5 separate regions of the Homo sapiens genome follow, and all the other regions are linked to region 3. The links are contacts of gene promoters, found by promoter capture Hi-C in blood cells and fetal thymus (Javierre and others, 2016). All regions are on one chromosome and are shown on one strand. Each heading gives the region's core, a stretch centred on a gene start or on the middle of the fragment in contact. The rest is flanking DNA. Distances are from core to core; before and after follow the strand shown. Region 1 overlaps BTG4 (BTG anti-proliferation factor 4). Region 2 overlaps DDX10 (DEAD-box helicase 10). Region 3 holds the start of ZC3H12C (zinc finger CCCH-type containing 12C). Region 4 overlaps DDX10 (DEAD-box helicase 10). Region 5 holds the start of C11orf65 (chromosome 11 open reading frame 65).

Region 1 (2,730 bases), core at 21-2,520, 1.4 Mb before region 3:
ATCATATTGTCAGTGAACAGAGATAATTTGACTTCTACTTTTCCAATTCAGATGCCTTTTATTTTTTTCTCTTGCCTGATAGCTCTGGCCAGGACTTCCAGTACTATGTTGAATAGGAGTTATCTTGGTTTCTAACTTGAAACGTTATATAAATGTATGTATTTTTTGTGGTCTTTCAAACAATGCCACTTACATTGTGAATGCTCAGTAATGCAGATAGAAAATACAAATTAGGAAGAAGCTTGTGGCGGATAAAACACTTGCTTAGTATTATTGGTAAAGGAATTTTATTTTGATTAGGCTGCACTAAAATTAATTTCTTTTGAGTTCAAATCAACATTGTATGGCTGTAGAATTTTATTAGATAATGTTTTGGGAAATGCAATTTTGTTTCAGCAATTAATGTAACTTCCTTTTATGTGGCTTGACCATAATGGAACTGAGTTTATGTGTGGGTTACAGAATCAGTTCATTATTTTATAAAATAGTGCTACTTGCTTGCTGTTGTTAAAAAAATACTTTCTGTCAGAAGTGGACTTTTGCTAAAACATCTATACCTTTCCCCTCTTTAGCAATAACATGTATTTGTGAATGGAGGGGTGAGACTACGGATATAACTTGTAGTTTAGGGAGGGAAGCTAAAGAAATGAAATGGGGTTATGATAAGACTGGTTATTACATCACAAGTCCAGCAAATTTAACATTCAATTCAGATGATATTTTAAAATTACTTTGTCTATTTTAAAACTTTTATAAGCATAACTATTTTCATTTTATAAGTGAAGTTTAGCAAAAACCAAGAAGACAAATGTAGAACCAGATTTTCGAGTTTTACCTTCATCGATGAACTTTGGGGCTTGACTATTCCTTAGCCATCAAGTTGAATTTCCTAATTTTAAAATGAAGAATGCAATTCTAGAAACTATTACTTGTACAAGGTCATGTCAGTCATATTCATGTTTTATACCATTTGATTCTCTGTTACAGGCATAATAGGAAATAAAATATGTGTATGTTGCTTCACTGCCTTTCTGTTCTTCATCCTCACTCCAAATGGCCAGAACCTCTTATTTCTTGTTTTCTGTGGTTCTTCGCCCAGACATAATCCCCTCACCCAAACAGAACACCATCCTGTTGCTCTACTATGGATAGTTCACTGGACATTTTCAAAAAGATATCCTTGAAAGACAAGGTTTTAAGCAAGGGAACAAATGTCTTATAATGAGAATTTTAGACATGACACAAGGATAGTGGGAGAGTTGTTCAAATTTCAGCAGTAATTTTCTCTTCTACTTAGCTCTGGGATTGGCTTAGGCCAGACCAGGTTGGTCTTTCTGCTAAATTCTGACATCTTGTCAGTGGACATTACTACTTGGGTATTTAATTGCCATTGAAAGCTCAGTATACCTCAATCTGAATGAATCACCATTTGTTTTATACCGACTCTTCCACTGAACTTCATTCTTTCAATGATAACATTAATCTGTTGGTTACAAGTGTTTGAAACTTGGGGTAAATTTTGAGTATTTCATTTCCCAAACTTTACATCCAAGTAGTCACTTGTGTATGTATTTGGTTTCCCTCTCTAGATGATAAGCCTCTTGAAAGGAAAGTTGAATTTTGTTTTTACCCCCAGCCCCACTAATACTTAGTGTCTGTGAAGTAGGTGGTCAGTAAATAGTCACTAAGTGAGTGTTAATTAAAACAGAAGGTGTAGTTGTCATTAATGTAAAGGAGGTGATTTAAATAAGGTGTTTCAAGTCATAAACAAGTAACGGAAGGAAACCTTGCATGATGTTTACTTTTTATTTGATTGTTCTTTCCTGAAATCTAAGTACATTGTTATTCTACTGTTCTATTCATAACTTTCAAGGCCTGCCTGGGCCTGTTGCAGAAAATAATGCTAGGAGAGGGTTCAAAACCTCATTAATGTACTTCACCAACTCAAAGTGCAAGGGAACAGTTTGTCATCAGGAAGATGAAGTAATGAAAGAATTATAAAAACACCTGGCACCATTCTATTATTGTAAATGCAAACTGACCATTTGAAAAGAAAAAAAATTTTGTGTTTGTTAATGCATCTGTTGCCTTTAGTTCAGAAGCAAAATTTCAGCAGTATACAAGGAGTTACCCTAATTTTCAGCTTTGTCCCTTGTAACATAAATTTTAAAAAATAATCTTTGCAAAAGTTACCCTAGCAAATGGCTAGAAAATACGAGAATAAATGATGCAAATTTGTCCTAATAATCTGTTAAACTTAAGGCATTATTAAGCAATCAAAAGTGTAAAATAAGCTTAAAATCTTCTTCACAGCTAAGGCGGTATCTATCTTAATGATTTCCACTTTTGCTGCACGTTAGAATCGCTTGGGGAACTTTTAAAAATCCTGATGTGCAGGTTGCACTCTATACCAATTAAGTCAGAATGTCTTGGCCGGGCGTGGTGGTTCACACCTGTAATCCTAGCACTTTGAGAGGCCAAGGCAGGAAGGTTCCTTGAGCCCAGGAGTTCAAGACCAACCTGGGCAACATAGGGAGACTCCATCTCTGTTGAAAAAAAAAAAATGTCTGGGGTAAGGGATAGGAGGCAGACATTGGTATTTTTAAAAGATCTTCAGGTGATTCCAAAGTGCAACAGTTTAGGTACCCCAGCCACTGAGGAAGAGGAATGACAACTACATCATGGACAGCTGAAACAAACAAGATACTATGGATTTGGAAGATTATTAAG
Region 2 (2,848 bases), core at 86-2,585, 1.4 Mb after region 3:
TACATCCTTAATGTTAGTCAACTGCTACCAATTTACTACTTACTTTTCTCTTACAAAATAAGAAAAGAAACCCAAGTGTTTGAGTCTATCAGATTTCCCAAAATATACTTTATAAGCAAATTACATTTCACACAATCACAGAAATTTCATGATAGGAAGTTTTCTTACCCAGACCCCTGGCTGCAATATCAGTAGCAAAGAGTACTGCAGCTCTCTTACGGACAAACTCATTATAGACTTCCATTCTTCTCATTTGCTGCTGTCGACCATGGAGTGCAAGGATAGAAACACCAGGACGTAGCCGGCAAAACACTCGGTACAGATACTGGACCTGGGGCATCAACAGAAGAATAAGTTTGCTTATGGCAGATGGCAGCAATAAAGCTTTTCTCTTATCAACGTATCCCACAGAGTCTCAACAGCAGAGCAATGTGATACCCAATTCCAACCAAGTAAAAAAAGTAAAGAAACTCTTATTTAATCACAAGCAATTTAATTTCCTTCCCTCCTTTAATTCACATTTCTATTTCCTAACGTCACAGAATTGCATCTTAAGTTTGAAGCTTGAAAGCCTTTTATTGATGTTATCATAACTCATTTTCTACAAAAGAAAAAACTTATTTTAATTTCCTGTGGCCATAGGCTGACTGAACTTTCCTCTCAGACTCAGCAATTATTAAAATAATTAGTAATACAGAACTGATCAAACCAAGAAATATGTTGGGATTTGATTTAAAAAACTGTTAGACATAAATAAAAACATTGTAAATATATCTCAATGTGTGGGACTATATAGAGCTAATTGTTCTGGTTCTCTTTTTGTACCCATAAATGGATACTATGGATTACTAGACTGAAAAGAGTTCAGCATTATTTTATTTTCTCTAATATGGGGGTTAAAATCTGTTCACATAAATAAAACAAACTCAAAGGAAGTTTAATTCTGAGCTCCTATAAAATAGGCCAAAAGTCATAATGGATTATTCCAAATAATTTTTGGTGATCCAGTCGCTCAATTAAAGAGAAAGACCCCATTAAAGTCTCTCTTCAATTTTGCTGACAGTAAAGAATGGGAAACCAAGTGAATTGCTTGTTACCCAATCACTAGCCATTCACTTTCTCAAATGCAATTTGCTACTGCCAGGGAGGTTCTGATTCTGGGACAATATATCAGGCAAGTATCAGAGATAGCTGGACTTAGGCCTTTCTTTCGTAAAGATGTAAAAACAGCTTCTCCAAGAAAACATCAAATGGCAGATGATGCTGGTGCAGCGGAAGGGTCCACGGGACAAGGAATTGGAAACCACAGAGGCTTCGATGGAGGCTTCAGCAATAGCACCTGCAACCAAGGCCACTGAGGCAAAGCCAAGGGGTGGATGCCAGTCACAAAGCTGTGCTGCTTGGTGAAGGACATGAAGACCAAGTCCCTGGAGGAGATCTATCTCTTCTCCTGCCCATCAAGGAGTCTGAGGTCCTTGACATTTTCCTGGGGGCATCTCTCAAGAATGAGGTTTCAAAGATTACATGGCGCAAAAGTGGCCCACACTGGCCAACGCACTGGATTCAAGGCATGTTGCCACTGGGGACTACAATGGCCACACTGATACGGGTATCAGGTGCTCCAAGGAGGTAGCCACTGCCATTTGAGGAGCCATTATCCTGGCCAAGCTCTCCATTGTCCTTGTGCCAAGAGGCTACTTGGGGAACAAGATCGGCAAGCTCACCAGCCCTTGCAGGGTGACAGACCCTCTCTGTGCTGGTGAGACTTATCCCCACCTCAGGAGGCACTGGTATCATCTCAGCCCCATGCCCAAGAAGCTGCTGCTGATGGTGGGTATTGACAATTGCTATACCTCGACCAAGAGGCTGCATTGCCACCCTGGGCAACTATGCCAAGGCCACCTTTGATGCCATCTCCTACTCTAAAGAGTAGAAACTTTAAACAGAACTTTAAATAGAACTTTCAGAATCATTTCCTAGCACCTAGATGCCAAAACCAACTAACTCTTCTTTAGGAGATGTGAAGTTTATTGTTTTGTTGTTGGCTACTGCTCAGGATACACTTCCAAGTTGCCTTGAGGAATGCTCCCAGGAGACTGGAAGCTTTGAAAATCTAAAATCGGTCCTTGAAAAACTGAAGTCTTTTTTTTTTTTTTAAAGACAGGGTGTCGCCATCTTGCCCAAGCTGGTCTTAAACTTCTAGACTCAAGCAATCCTCCTACCTCAGCCTCTTAAAGTGCTGGGATTACAGGCGTGAGCCACCGCACCAAGGCTGAAGTCATTCTTTACATGGTAAAATAAGGTTCAGTAGACAACAGCATCAGATCACCACTTAACTTCCCATAAGCTAGAGAGAAACCCATCTACATATTTATCATGGAAAGTTATTGCAAAAGCTGTAAATCTAGAATTGATCTACTACATTCCCTATTAAGTCATTGGGAATCTGAAATATAGTACAGGAGAAGAGGCACACGCACGCACACATGCACAAAGACCGTAGTCCCTTCTCCTTAAGAGAGGAGACAAAGTTCTCTTAGACATCTCTGAAATCCTTATTCTTTATTCCTAGCACAGGGCTAGTGTTCAAGAAGTGTTTATTAACTAAGATATAAACAAAACACTTCAGAAGGTTAGGGGAGGGAACAACTGATTCTTTAAAAAGGGAGTGTCAGAAAGGGACTTTCAGGCATAACATTTGAACTTAGCCTCAAAGTAAGTATTTCCCCAGATTTAGATGAAGAGATGCAGGGAGGGCATTCCAGACAGATCAGCATAAACAAAGATATACGGCATGGAAATAAATGGTATATTCATTCCCATATTCTTGGAGGGTAAGGGAGGTATC
Region 3 (2,700 bases), core at 91-2,590:
TAGGCATCTTCCTGGGCTTATCACACTAAGATTAATTTTACCAATGTTTGATGAAGCTATCATGTAGTCAAACACAGAGAACCCTAAACTTAAGAAACTGCTACTAAAATTAATTGTACATGTGATTAAATGAATGGAAGTCATACCCTCTAAATCCTAAGTCCATTAAGACAAAAACATTTATAACACACTGTATTTATGACTTCTTGTGGTTCTTGAAAAGTCAAAAATTGTGTTTGAGGTTTATCTCGTTTTCCGTTTATAATATGCATTTTAAAAGTGGAAAAACTCAAGCACGTAACAAGTGAAAAACTGAACAACGTTGCCAAATTCCTAAACATACAATACTTAGCTCCAATTATCTCTGCATCTATTCTAAAATGGTTTAAAAAAAGTCTGAATCAATAAGCGCCTGATGGGCCTGGGATACTCCAATACAGTCTTGTCAACCAATAGGAAAACTTTTCCTAAATCTGGATTCGTCTTTCATCTCTTTATCACAAAACACCGAACACAAACCGAGATTGTTAACGGATAACCAAATGGCAAGAACCCCAGACAGAGTAATCAGTACTTGGATGTTAGGGCTGTTTTTAAGGACTTGAAATGAGACAGCTTAGGGAAGAAATGCGGGATTCATTTCTCCAAGTTATATTTGTAACACTTCTTAATACGGAGTTAAAAATGTGAACAGCCGAGCTAAAATGAACGCAGCGTGTAAAAGGGATCTGGACTGGAGCCTGGGGGTGAAGGAGGGACGAGGGGGGAGTGAGGGGCTTTCGTGACGCTCGGCCTGGGGTTGCTGGCGATCTGGATGGAGGGATGGATAGTTAAGCGAATGGCCAGGGCTGGATCCGAGATGCCAAGAGATGTCTCGCCCCACGAGCGCGCGCGAGTCTGAGCCGCTGGGGCAGCGCAGTGTGTCCGTTTCCATCCGCGGCGCCCGAGCCCGCCTCCATGTTCGCGATCTATGCCCCCGGGCGGGCGGGGACCGGTGCCTTAGGCCGCGGGGCCGGGAAGCCCGGCCTCACCTCGCCCGAAATCCCGGCGGGGACGGCGTTGCCCGAGGGGAGGATGCGCTGGGCTTTCCGCTCGGCCCCACCTGAGCGACCGGAGCTCGGTGACTCGACCTCCGGAGCCCGACCCGCCTGGGCCTGGAGATCACACGGCGAGGTCGCTGCGGCCCCGGCGCCCTCCGCCTGGCGCCCGGGCGCGGCCCCGCGGCCCTCCCCACGACCGGCTACCCCAGGACCACTCTCGCCGCGGTCCGCGTCCCCCACCCCCTTCCCGAGGACAAACCTGGGAGCCGCCACCCGGCATAGCCAGCCCCGCGAGAAAGCGGCGAGCGGGCGGCGGGGCCCGCGGAGAAGCGGCCACCGCGGCCCTCCCGCGCCAAGCCGCGCCCGCCCGCGCGCCCTCTCCGCGGGCCGCAGCCCCGGCGCCCCCTCCCTGGGTTGCACAACTCACAGCCCCAACGCGCGCGCACTCGAATCTGTTGCTCAACCTACTTGCATTCTCTTCTCCGCAGCCATCACTACATGCCCTGGAGCTGGGGCAGCCCCGGGGCCCTCCGGCAGGCGGCCGCCTCTCGCCTCAGCCCTGGGCTGCCGCGGCCGCCGCTAGGGCGCGGGGCGAGCGCGAGGCTCCCTCATGCCTCCCGCCCGGACAGCTGGCCGCACGCCAGGGCCCCGGCTCGGGCGCGCCCGAGCGCTGGGCTCGGCTCGGCCCTGCCCTTCGTCCGTGCCGCTGCTCCGCGGGCGAGAGCGAACCCGGCTCCGCCACCTCGCTCCGCGCTCCTCGCCCGCCCGCCCGCCCGCAGCCACCGCAGCCGCGCCGCTTCCTCCTCCCCTTCCCTCTTTTCCTTCTCCTCCGTCGCCGCCTCTGGAGCCGAGGTTGGCAAACCAGCACCTGCTGCTGGAGAACGCCGAGAACTGAAACAGGAAACCCTGAGCCAAGGGGAAAACCCGAGAGGCGTGGAGAGGGGTGAGGGGAGCTGCTGGAACCTGTCGGGCTCGACCCAGCCGCTGGGGCTGCCCGAGGTTCCCGCGCCGCCTCCCCTCGCGCCTATTCCCTGCCCCGGCCCAACCCAGCGGTCCCGACCTCCCCGCGCCTCTCCCCCGACCTGGTGCAGGACGGCGCCTTTCCGCTCGGCGACACCTTCTCCACCCAGCAGTAACACTGATCATGTCCCGGGCAGTCAAGGAGATCGACGGGCCGCCTTCTTAGGGCAGGTTCCCCGTAGTTGTTTACTTATCAATATTCCGTGATGAGGAAAAACCACACCCTGCATTAGCAAGGCCAATAAAAGAATTTAAACAAATGAAGCTGTTGGGATTTCACCCAGGGATAGGACTTCTTTCAGCAAGGAAATTGGCTTTGATGGAAATGGCAATCGTGTCAAAATCGAGGTTGAACCCAAGATACATCCAGATCTCTTTCAGGAGATCGGAAGGAAACAGCCCTTTGCACAGAGGTGGGCGCCTGAATCGCAGGCTGAAAAGCACCGGGAGCAGAGAGCCTTTCTACTTCTGTGAATCGTACAACACCCAGCACAAACTAAGTCAATGTTTCAGAAATGTTCAAATAACCTTATTCGCCTGTCCTTGGAATCATTACGAGCAGCCTAGGGCAGGATGAGTCTGCTTCTGGAGTGAGAGGGAGGGACACTGAATGGGTTGTGCCCCTACCATATGCCACGGG
Region 4 (2,722 bases), core at 153-2,652, 1.4 Mb after region 3:
TGTTAGAGCCATATAAACAAGCACTTGTTTATGAATTTGAAAACTCCTTATTTCTAATCATATAACAAGTTCAAAGGGCAATTCACATGACCTTCAAGAACAGCCTGTCCTATTTCACATTTCTTTCATTACCTGTGTAACTACCTTAAAATAAAGATAAATACGGCCTGTAAAAGTAGCTGTTTAAACTTCAACCACAAAAGTAGATTTAAAAATTCAGTAGTTAGCAGATGTTATAAATATTGAATATTGTATAAAAGAAGGAGATAAAGGAAAACGACTCAATATTTGATATAATGATTCAGCATGTTACAGAATAAACATCATGCCAAAACCAGCTTTAAGCTTTCCACTGAAAATTTACATCCTCAGGAAGTCATCTGCATACCAAACTCAAATAGGAAAAAAAATACATAAAGCAACTCAATATATGCATCTAAGCTTCATGTTACACAATAACAACTCCTTTTGAATTGGAACAAAGCTTAGATTACAAAAAAAGAATTAAGCACAGGATGCCAAAAAACAGAAAAGACACCTATAAGACAAATGAGCATATATACCAAACTATTTCAGCTGGCAACATCTGAGATCATGCTACCATTGTTTCACTTCATGGTAGCAAAAATTCGGAGTACAGTAGTCTTGACTTTAGAGTTCTTCCTTCTGTTTAAGTCAACTGAACATTACATAAGGCCCCTGAACACAAATCACCAGGTATGGAAGAGATAAAAATTAAGAGACATGTGGCTACATTATGAAATGTCAAGAAAAAGAAAAAAATACTAGCAAAATAGACCATTGGAATCCAGAGGTCAGTGGGTTGAAGAAGTAAGGGATGGCTTCAAAGAAGAGACAAGATAAGCACTGCATCTTGAAAGATGTGAAATGCTGGAGTGGGAAGAAAATAATCCAGGAAGGAATCCTTCACTGTTTAAGTGGAAACTGGGAAGAATGGTCTCGCAGGACAATAGGATAGGGGCTAGCTTACAAAACCCAACTGCAAGGGTGAACTTAAGGGTAGCATGGAAGGTAAACCACTTGAAAAAAAATACTAATTTGACCAAGGTTCACAGGAAGATGACTCAGAAGAACAACGAGAACCAATTATGAAGCTTATCCCCCCGAGCCAAGAATGAGGTAATAAGAATCTGGGGGCAGAATGGCAGTGTAAGTGGGAAGTGAAAATGGAACACTAAAAGCCACCACTAAATGTAGAAATGACGGGAATCAAAGCAAGCACAATCATACCGAGGCAAGTCAGAGGGGCCTAAGTACAGACTCCAGTGCTAGCGCTTCACTAACTATGCAACATTAGGCAAGGAAGTAAGTGAACCTGTCAAAGCCTGTGTCTGAACTTGTAACATGACAACAACACTACACAAGGCTGTGGTAAGAATTTAAATAAGTGAGATATGATAGTCAAAGTGCATGGTAAGTTATAAAAAAATTGATAGATGTTAATCATTTTCCAGTACTTATTTTACAAATACTTAGTCCAAGTTCCTAAAAGTCACTAAGTACCTAACACAGTCCCTGGCATCCGTTAGGTAACTGCTGCTGAAAGGAGGGAAAAAGAGAGAAAGAGAAAAAGTGAAGAGACAAGAGGCAGAAACATCCTAGCTCCCACATAGGAGAATCTTGATTTGGAACTTGGAATCTTTTTATAAGAGTATACTTATAAGCTTCAAAGTTAGCTAATCTGTGTTTTAACACCAACAGTGAGTTCTTACAGTACTAAAAAAAGAAAAAGCTACTAAAAAAAAAAAAAAAAGTAGGACTAAATCAATGTAAACAGGATCTGGAATCAACTCTAAGGTACAATGAATAATCTATGGGTATCATTCAAATCTTAATTAAAACTGACCTATGTTTACTTTTAAGAAAGCTTTAAAAGGACATTTGTTGAGCTAAAATGGAATCTACCCAGTCTCATTTCTAAAAAGGTTTAAACTGAAAAAGAAAAGAAAGCATATGCTTAGAGATTTCATTCTCACATTTAAGGAAATAAGTGTTCCAAAAATAAATTTTAATTTAATCATTTTAATTGTATGTTCATGCTCTTATCTAACACTGTCTCCCTGGAGGTCAACTTTCTGAACACCCAACAAGACAATTAGCCAAAACAAGGTTCTTCCCTATGGTGGGAGGTCAACCAGCCATCTCTTACTGCCTTTGTGCCTGATCACTACACCTGCGCTCTCTCCTGCACATGTCTTATTGCTTCATCACTCGTGGCACTTCTCCACTGCTAAGAAAATCTTGTTGTCCTTCACTGCATCGATCTCGTCAAACAGAAAAGGATTGTGACAAGGCAGCATTCCAGAAGGCCTTGCTTGCACCTGGCACTCAGTACCTCTCGTCTCCATTTACGCCGAAGTCTAAAGGCAAACATTCATTTTATACTCCAAGTGTGCGCACACAATGAGTAGCCCAAAATTATTTACAATACTGTCAATTACACTGACATTACCCAATTACAGAAAGCAAACTACACACAAATAATGGTAGGCACGACAGCAGAGAAAGAAAATGTGACTTAGCATCACAAATAGGTTTAACTGCTAACTTCACCACTGTGACCTTGGACAAGTCACTTAAAAGCCTTCCTTTCCTCCTCCGAAATTTTAATAGCTACCTTTCTTGTCATAAGGAAAAATGAGAACTTATGCAGAAAGTGTTCAGTATATGGTAAAATGCCAAATAATTATGGTCTTAATTA
Region 5 (2,717 bases), core at 4-2,503, 1.6 Mb after region 3:
ATTAAGATATACATAATGTTTCCATGACTATATTTTTACAGTTTATTGTTCATAACTACTGTGTATTAATGCATCAAGGCAACTACATAAAGAGGAACTGAAGCTCACCCCTTGCTTATGATTGTGATGATTTTAAAGAACTCTGGAAGTTCAGTGAGTCACTGAATTAACCTACCAAGAATTTTTTCTGTACAAATGTTTTCATTATACAGGGAAATTTCTCTTCAGGTGTTTCTTTTCCCTCCTTAAAAGTTTATCTTCCTTACAAACAAATTATATTCCATGCATGAACATAGGACGAACATAGCAAAACTGGGCAGTTCTGAACAAGATTTTTTCACATTGCAATAATCTGTGACCAACTAAAGCACTGCCAAAGTGTCAGACTCAGAATTCAAGCAAGTCAGACTTGCTTTAGATAAGCAGTGCTTGCATTATTTAAGGTCATTTGAAAACTCATTCAAGAGGTCGTCTGTTTTCACTTAAAGCAGTTTAGCTTAACCAGCTGAAGAGCTTACATTTAGAAATAACATTGGACTGCAAGTCACGTATTCTTTGACCTTGAGCAAGACCTGTCAAATAGCTAGAAGGATCAGTTGTCTCATTTTCAAATGAATAAATTAAACTAATTAAATAGGCCGGGCGCGGTGGTTCACGCCTGTAATCCTAGCACTTTGGGAGGCCAAGGCGGGAGATGGGGTAGGGGGGGATCGCTGGAGCCCAGGAGTTCAAGACCAGCCTGGACAACATGGAGAAACCCTGTCGCCACTATTAATAAAAATAGAAAAATGAGCCTGGCGTGGTGGTGCACTCCTACGGTCCCAGCTACTCGGGAGGCTGACGTGGGAGAATCACCTGAGCCAGGGGAGTTCCAGGCTGCAGTGAGCCGAGATCGCGCCACTGCACTCCAGCCTCGGCCACAGATTGAGACCCTATCTCAAGAAAAATTTTACAAAAATTAATAGAAAATATTTCATTATATTTCTCAACATCTTTAAGGTTCTTGGTTGAAATGACTGGGCTTTATTATATACTAAGCCCAACTTCGTAGACAATCACTTTGCTTTCCCTTCCAAAATCCTTTGCCTCAAAGCCACTGACAATCGAAAGCGGGCTTCTAACAGAACCAGCAGCCTTCACAAGCGGTTGGTCTATATCCCCTGCACTTTGTCAGAGCGCGAATAGAGGAAAGGCGGGGCCTAGAAGGCGGGGCTAGGAGGGCAATGGGGCGGGACAGAACGGATTGAGTTACGTCATTTCCGCCTGCGACGTTACCTAGGAGTCCAGCGGCGCCCGGGCCAGCAGCGATTGGTAGGTGAAGGGAATAGTGTCCCTTCTCTCAGCGCGTACTACTGTTCCGGTAGCCTTTGTGCCCACTGGTTTGAGCCTTCGTTGTTTCAAGGCCCTAAAGAACCCATACCCTTGATACCATTCCCCATCCGCCCCTCTTAAGGACGTTTCATTCCTCTAAAGCCCTCCCAGCGAGGCCTCCAGCTGGTTTACAGTCCTGCCCGGGAGTAACCCCTTCCTCAGAGCTCCTTTCCTCGCCCTCGGTGAAGTTGCGTCGGGCTGGTTGACAAGTCCTTACTGCTCATACTGCGCCTTCACAGATCCCCACACCCCAATCCTCCGCAAAGATATTACTCCGTCCACCTTCCCGCTGACCGGGAAGTACACATTAATCTTCCTTAGATTTTTCCTCATTTCTTTCCTTTGCCCCCTCCCATTTGTTTTACGTCTTTTCAGTTTTTTTAGAGATGGAAAAGGGAAACGCGTTTTTAAAGAATAGGTTAGTTTTTCTTCTCCTGCCCCTAGCATCAAGGACCACAGGTAAAAAGGAAAAGCGAAATTACGAAACTTATAAAGGCCACGCGAATCATTTGTTTATTCAATAAATTTAGTAGAGGAAACAAAATAGGACGTATACAGGTTCCAATTCAAGCAAAGTAAAGATTGTTTGCTGCTTTAAAAGTGAAACCAAGAATCCAAACACGTCTTGTGGGCTTTTTTCCACGAAGCGTAAAAATAAATAAGTGAAAACATCATCTATTATGATAAAAAATTTTATTGATTAGGGATATAATAAGCTTGGAAAATACTTATCTGTGAATCTACAAGTGGCACATGGGTGTAGTAAAATACTTCATTGCCTGAGCAGTTGTTTGATAGTACATTTTATTTGGTTAGTTTTTTGTTGTTGTTTGTTTTTGAGAAGGCATCTCGCTGTGTTGCCCAGGCTGAGTGCAGTGGCGTGATCTCAGTTCACTGCAACCTCTGCCTCCTGGGTTCAAGTTATTCTCCTGCCTCAGCCTTCCGAGTAGCTGTGACTGCAAGTGTGCGCCACCACACCCAGTTTATTTTTGTATTTTTACTAGAGACAGGGTTTCACCATATTGGCCAGGCTGGTCTCAAACCCCTGACTTAAGGTGATCTGCCCACCTTGGCCTCCCAAAATGTTAGGATTACAGGCCTGAGCCACCAGACCCGGCCTGGTAGTACATTTTAGTATCTTAAAACTTATGAAGGGTTTTCACAATGGTTATTTTATCTGGAGCATCATAATAACCATATAAAGTCGATCTTATTTCTTATCTAAAGCCAGCAACGGTCCCACCCTCCTTTCTGCTCCAGATGGTGTCCTCTTACACCTACTCAAAGGTTTTACCATTTAACTTATCCCTTTTTTTGCCCCTTTAAGTTCTCCGTCACTTTAATTT

Evidence for each region. Contacts are between HindIII fragments. The CHiCAGO score rates a contact against its expected background, and 5 or more counts as called.
Region 1: a contact is called between a fragment that was not itself captured here and the fragment with the promoter of ZC3H12C in region 3, in 1 of 17 cell types (total B cells). The highest score is 5.4, in total B cells.
Region 2: a fragment that was not itself captured here is called in contact with the fragment with the promoter of ZC3H12C in region 3 in 2 of 17 cell types (M0 macrophages and M2 macrophages); the score reaches 7.3 in M0 macrophages.
Region 4: a fragment that was not itself captured here is called in contact with the fragment with the promoter of ZC3H12C in region 3 in 1 of 17 cell types (M2 macrophages); the score reaches 5.4 in M2 macrophages.
Region 5: a contact is called between the fragment with the promoter of C11orf65 here and the fragment with the promoter of ZC3H12C in region 3, in 1 of 17 cell types (monocytes). The highest score is 5.1, in monocytes.

The regions. Positions count from the first base shown.
Region 1 is chr11:111,501,973-111,504,702 of GRCh38, reverse strand. The region is part of intron 1 of BTG4 (BTG anti-proliferation factor 4); the gene reads left to right. Among named protein-coding and RNA genes, the nearest start is that of MIR34BHG, 7.3 kb to the left of the region's middle. The HindIII fragment of the contact is 2,053 bases long and covers 244-2,296 here.
Region 2 is chr11:108,689,359-108,692,206 of GRCh38, reverse strand. It overlaps DDX10 (DEAD-box helicase 10), which reads right to left. Exons shown (of 18, transcript NM_004398.4): 8 at 169-331. It also overlaps the pseudogene RPS2P39. Among named protein-coding and RNA genes, the nearest start is that of DDX10, 26 kb to the right of the region's middle. The HindIII fragment of the contact is 1,540 bases long and covers 566-2,105 here.
Region 3 is chr11:110,092,032-110,094,731 of GRCh38, reverse strand. It overlaps ZC3H12C (zinc finger CCCH-type containing 12C), which reads right to left and starts at 1,340. Exons shown (of 6, transcript NM_033390.2): 1 at 1,300-1,340. The coding sequence starts at 1,320. RefSeq lists silencers at 981-1,450, 1,511-1,770, 2,071-2,130. The HindIII fragment of the contact is 5,266 bases long and covers 1-2,700 here.
Region 4 is chr11:108,732,162-108,734,883 of GRCh38, reverse strand. All of the region lies in intron 13 of DDX10 (DEAD-box helicase 10), which reads right to left. The region is part of intron 2 of LOC124902750 (a long non-coding RNA gene); the gene reads left to right. Among named protein-coding and RNA genes, the nearest start is that of DDX10, 68 kb to the right of the region's middle. RefSeq lists an enhancer at 993-1,112. The HindIII fragment of the contact is 570 bases long and covers 1,118-1,687 here.
Region 5 is chr11:108,466,065-108,468,781 of GRCh38, reverse strand. It overlaps C11orf65 (chromosome 11 open reading frame 65), which reads left to right and starts at 1,253. Exons shown (of 9, transcript NM_152587.5): 1 at 1,253-1,311. RefSeq lists a cis regulatory region at 1,169 and enhancers at 1,097-1,241, 1,182-2,034. The HindIII fragment of the contact is 4,195 bases long and covers 1-2,089 here.